Regions from separate parts of the Homo sapiens genome. Here region 2 is linked to region 1. Evidence: promoter capture Hi-C in 16 types of primary human blood cells and fetal thymus (Javierre and others, 2016). All regions are on one chromosome and are shown on one strand. The core of a region is centred on a gene start or on the middle of the fragment in contact, and the rest is flanking DNA. Distances in the headings are between cores, read along the strand shown. Region 1 holds the start of CEND1 (cell cycle exit and neuronal differentiation 1). Region 2 holds the start of SCT (secretin).

Region 1 (2,700 bases), core at 80-2,579:
TGGAGCCCCAGCTCAGGGGCCTCCCGTGGGCCTCTGACACTTCTCTTTCACGGCCTGGACTCCATCTGTCCATGACCACTCCTCAAGGGGCCCCTCCAGCCGCAGAGGCAAGGGCCACGCACAGGTGGGAGGAGGTAGGGGACCCCACTGTGCTCCATAAAATGGCCCATGCAAATGCCACATCCTCCCACCAGCCGGGGGCAGGAGGCTCTTGGTGGGGAAGTAAGGATCAGGCCCAGAGAACTCGAAGGAAGAGCATTCTCCCCTCCAAGGAGGTGATCGGAGCCCCAGTGGGAGAGCTGACTGCATCCCCTCCTCAGGAGAGCATTCCTGCTTTGCAGAGATGGACACTAAAGCACGGAGGCTGTGACCTGGCCAGGGTCCCAGGGGGAGGAGGGCGGGGAGGGGCAGGAGCTGGGATCTCAGGCAGCCATCAGGGTGGGTGGGCCCACAAGAACCCAGACTTGAGAAAACTGGGGTGTCTCTCCAGGAAGTCAGCGTGGGGCTGTGCTTCCAAGGGCCGTCTGCCCCTCCCCAGCCTCTGGGGCCCCCTCCTCAGCATGGGCCGTGCCTGCCTCCAGCCCTGGAGCAGGGAGTCCTCGCCCAGCCCAAGGCTGTGCTGTCTCTGTGGGCAGAGGGTTCCTGGCGTTAAACAGGGTGGGCACATGCTGCACTTGGCCCGCGGGTCAGGGCGGAGGACAGGGTTCTGGGCTGTGGGAAAGGCGGTGCCCAGATTCTCAATGACCGAGGCAGAGGTGGGAAGGGCCCTGGGGGCCCAGCCGCCCTGAACCTGAGTGGGTCTTGCCCCAAAGCCCCAGAGGCCGCCTGTCTGCCTCTCCCAGGGAAGGATGAGAAATGCCCTCCAGACCTGCAGAGAAAGGGAGGCACGTTCCCCACCCCCCGCCAGGTGCATTGACCACACTGAAGGTCACCCGAAGGTCACAGCATGATGAGGGCGTCTCCAGAAGAGGCCCAGCTGCTGCCACCTCCCAGGGAAGCCCAGCCGTCCCTTCACCCCTGCAGTTCTCGGGGGGCTCAGCTGCTGGGCATCAAGTTTGCAAAGAGCAGGTGGTCTGCCCCCCCAACCTCGCTATTTGTGGCACTTACATCCCGGCCGCCGCCTCCCTCTCCCGGGATCAACTGAGCCCTGGAGAACTGGGGGGCCCGCGCGCAAACCCAGTGACCTTCAAGGCCCGGAGCCGCCTCCTCGCCCCGCAGGACGCCGCGCCCGCCCCGCCCGCCCCGCCCGCCGGGAGCCCCCCGCCTTACGCGTCCTCCGGCCTCCCCGGGGCTGCGCGCTCCTCCGCGGGATGACGGCGGCTGCGAACGCGGAGGAGAGCTCGGGAGTTTCCCACAATGCACTGCTCCCGGCGCAGGAGGGCGGGGAGGGGGAGGGGCGACCGGGCCCCGCCCCGCCGGGAACCGTGGGATCCGCAAACCCAGCTCCGCCTTAGATCCAGGGGTAGAAACTTAGGGTCCGAGAGAGCAACTGCGGGGTCCAAGTCCCATCTGGGACTGCCAGAGGCAGGAGGCGGGTCCCGCTCAGCATCCCCTCTAGGCCAGGGTGCCCCTTGGTCGGTGGGTGACGGGTCGGTGGGTGAGGGGTCGGTGGGTGGGTGCGCAGGCCTAGCCCTGCAGTCTGAAGGGAGCCAGTTATGGGAAGAGGGGACTGCCCTCCCCCGCCCCCAAACAGACCCCCAGACAGACAGCAGCATCTACTTAGAATATTTATTTATTCTCTGACATGACAAGACACAAAAAGTTACAACTTCTTAAAACTCTTCAAAAGAAAAAAATATAATTCTGTAAGCAGCAGCAGCAGCTTCCAAGGTTCTGATGTGACGGGAGGGGCAGCTCCCAGGAGCAACCGTGAACTGGGGGGGTCCAGGCCTGAGCCCCAGGTAGTGTCGCTGGGAAGGGGCCTCTGTGGAGGGCCCCGGTTTTGGGGACACAGCACCAGCACATCAGGGTCTGTCACCAACACGATCACATGGCCAGGGCGGGGCAGGGAGAGCTTCGGCTCACAGCAGGGATCGCCCGGTGGCAGGGGGGATGGGGCTTCTGAAGTGTGGTCAGGGGCCTTATGCCCGGAGGCGGGAAGGATGGGGCTTCTGCAGTGTACCCAGGGGCCTTATGCAGAGGCTGAAAAAGGAGGGTGGGCCCTGAGAGGACTTGGGGGTGTGGCAGCTCCTGGCCCTCCCTCCAGAGCAGGGCAGGCACCCTCAGGCTCCACACTGGTCCCAATGCCCGCCCTGCTCCCTGGCCAATCCCAGGCCAGGGTGGAGGACTCAGGAGAGACCAAGCTGGGTAAGTTAGTTCCTGGACGGGGTCAACAGAGCCTGGGGCACACACAGCACACAGAGCGCCTGGCCACGGCGGGAAGGGGGGCAGTCCCCAGCAGCCCCATCCCCAAGGGCCAGGCCAGATCCCCACAACACACACACGCATGCACACACACATACACACACACATGCACACAGACCTCACAATCTGGGCCCCAGCCTGGGGTGGGAGCTGAGGAGCCCACCAGAAAGTCCCACAGTGGGTGGCGGGCTTGCCCCAAGAGTCAGACCTCAGGGCAACCCCTCACTTGGGATTCCTGGCTCAACAGAGAGGGCAGGAGACCCCAGTCCTCTTGCAAGGCTGGCCAGGGAGGCAGAGTCAAGTCCTGCCAAGGCGACAAGAGCGGCTGGGGAAGGA
Region 2 (2,728 bases), core at 1-2,500, 160 kb before region 1:
GGTGACACCTCCACCCTCCCCTCTTCCTGCCCGCCTGAGCCCCCCTGGCCCCTTCACACCCTCCCCACTACCCCTTACAGAAACACTGACCACATGGGCCCCCGGGCAGGAGCTGAGAGGGTGTCCGGGATCCCCCGAGCCCCAGAATGTTTCCTAATGGATGACAAGGGGTGGGGCGGGGCCCTGCAGTACTTAGTCGAGGTACAGGAGGTGGCCCTGATGCCAGAGATAAGGATGAGGGGCCGCCGTGCCTGCAGGTGTAAAGGGCAGCTGGGTGTGGTCAGTCCCTCCTGGGTGGATGGGCCTCCATCCATCCCTCAGCCCCGCTACACAGGGGTTGCCTCGATTACACTGAGTGGACACAGACAACTCCCAGCGTCTGGGTCTGATTCCTCCTTTATTGGTGCCAAGTACCACCCCTCCCCCTCTCCCCCATCCTGCCCCCCACCCCAAATGCAGCTGCGCTCCTGGGCCGGGCAGGTGGTGAGGGGGTTCCTTCCTCATCTGGGCCGCAAGGTTCCTTCTGCAGCAGCGCCAGCTGGTTCTGAAACCATAGGCCCAGGGGGCAGCCAGGGAGACCAGGTCCCGTCCAGGGGCATCCTGCAGAGACAGCACGTGAGGGTCTGAGGGCTGGGGCTGGAGACCCCGGCCCCGCTGCTGGAATTGGGCCTCCAGTGGCCACCAGCGCTGACCCGGGGAGGCCAGGACAGAAGGAGGGGTCTGGGGTGGGGTCTGGAGTGGGGTCTGCGGTGGGGCGGGTGCTCACCAGGCCTGCAGGATGGGCATGTTGGACCCTGACGGGCAGAGCAGACCCGCGCTGAGCCTGGTCCAGGCCATGCTGTTCTCTGCGTCCTGCTCGCTGCCCCCCGCCCCAAAACAGAGTTAGTCCTGGAGCTGGGGGGTCGCGCGTTGCTGCTGGGGCACCACGCCAGGACCCCCCACCCCACCCGGCCTCACCTGCGCTTCCCCACCAGGCCCTGTAGCAGCCGCTGGAGCCGCGCGCCCTCCCGCAGGCGGCTGAGCTCGCTGGTGAACGTCCCGTCTGAGTGTCGCCGGGCCCTGCGGGCGGTCGGGGGTCGGGGTCAGGGCGCACTGGGGGCGGGTGGGGCCCGGGGGGCGGGCGGGCCTGGCGGGCGGCTCACCTGGGGGGCGCGGGGCGCGCGGCGGAGCCCCCGAGGAGCAGCAGCAGCAGCAGGAGGGGCCGGGGGGCCATGGCGGGGTCGGGGCGCAGGAGCTGAGCGCTGCGGCCACGGCCCCGGGCCCCCGCAAGGCCCCTTTATGGCGGCGCCCGGAAAGGGGACGGCCCGGCCGCGCCCAGCGATCCCGGGAAGGTCAGGGCCGCCCCCCCAGCTGTCGCCCCGGCCCGGCCTCCCGCCCCCTCCGCCGCGCTGGCGCCCCTCGGCCGGCTGGGGGAGGGGGACGTCCCGGCCTGGGGGGCGAACGGAGCGCGGGCCTGGGACCCGCAGAGGGAACCGCACCGCGAAGCCTCGGAGCCTGCGGGGGCGGAGGGGCCGGAGGGCTTGGGGGAGGGTTTGGGGGGGGACTGGGGGGCCCCGGGGAAGGGGCTGCGGCCGGAGTTCCGGAGGCCCCTGGAGCACCTTGCTGGGGCGAGTTCGTCTCCAGCTTCAGCGTGGCGTGACTGTTGGGGGGCCGGTGTTGCCATTTTATCTGCTTTGAAGTGCGCGATTCAGGATCATTCGGTGCATCCATCCCCACCATCCGTTCTCAGACTTTCCCGTCCTCCCAAAATCCGTTCACAGACGCTCCCGTCCTCCCAAAATCCGTTCACAGACGCTCCCGTCCTCCCAAAATCCGTTCACAGACGCTCCCGTCCTCCCAAAATCGTTCACAGACGCTCCCGTCCTCCCAAAATCGTTCACAGACGCTCCCGTCCTCCCAAAATCGTTCACAGACGCTCCCGTCCTCCCAAAATCCGTTCTCAGACTCTTCCGTCCTCCAAAAATCCATTCTCAGACTCTTCCGTCCTCCCAAAATCCGTTCTCAGACTCTCCCGTCCTCTCAAAATCTGTTCACAGACGCTCCCGTCCTCCCAAAATCCGTTCACAGACGCTCCCGTCCTCCCAAAATCCGTTCACAGACGCTCCCGTCCTCCCAAAATCCGTTCTCAGACTCTCCTGTCCTCCCAGAATGAAGCTCTGTCCCCATCAAACGCCCCCTCCCCTCCTCAGCCCCGGCGCCCCGTCCACTTTCTGTCTGTGGATTCAGCGCTTCCAGGGACTGCGCGCAGGGGGAGCCTCACGGGATTTGTCCTTTGGAGACCGGCTGGATTCTCAGCGCAGCATCCTCCGCCTTCGCCGCCGCGGCCTGGCCTGTGTGGGAATCTCCTTCCCTTTTGTGGGGAACTGTGTCCCGCTGTGTGCAGGGACCGCATCGACCGCGTCCGCTCATCTGTGGGCATCTTGATGGACACCTGGGCTGCCTCCCCTTTGGGGCGACGGCGAGTAACGCTGCTGTGAACGTGGGTGTGCAAACGGCGCTTCCCGATCCCGTTTTCAAGCGTTCTTGGTGTATAGTTATGAGGGAATTGCTGGGTGACAGAGTAATTATGTGTTAAATATTCTGAGGAAACGCCAAACTGTCTTCCCAGCAGCGCAGCAGGGACACGGTTCTTGTCCTCGCCAACACTTGCTACTTTGTGGCTTTTTGTTTGTCGCGTACTAACGATGCCGGTGGGTGCGACGTGGTGTCTCGCTGCGGTTTTGATTGG

What was found. The method cuts DNA at HindIII sites, captures the fragments that hold promoters and counts their contacts. A CHiCAGO score of 5 or more calls a contact.
Region 2: the fragment with the promoter of SCT here is called in contact with the fragment with the promoter of CEND1 in region 1 in 2 of 17 cell types (monocytes and neutrophils); the score reaches 5.8 in monocytes.

The regions. Positions count from the first base shown.
Region 1 is chr11:788,761-791,460 of GRCh38, forward strand. CEND1 (cell cycle exit and neuronal differentiation 1) reads right to left here and starts at 1,330. Exons shown (of 2, transcript NM_016564.4): 1 at 1,270-1,330. It overlaps SLC25A22 (solute carrier family 25 member 22), which reads right to left. Exons shown (of 10, transcript NM_001191061.2): 10 at 1,715-2,700. RefSeq lists a silencer at 1,241-1,470. The HindIII fragment of the contact is 25,064 bases long and covers 1-2,700 here.
Region 2 is chr11:625,931-628,658 of GRCh38, forward strand. It overlaps SCT (secretin), which reads right to left and starts at 1,251. Exons shown (of 4, transcript NM_021920.4): 1 at 1,143-1,251; 2 at 958-1,059; 3 at 767-859; 4 at 379-600. The coding sequence starts at 1,213. The coding sequence ends at 501. RefSeq lists an enhancer at 785-1,285 and a silencer at 879-1,173. The HindIII fragment of the contact is 5,281 bases long and covers 1-2,728 here.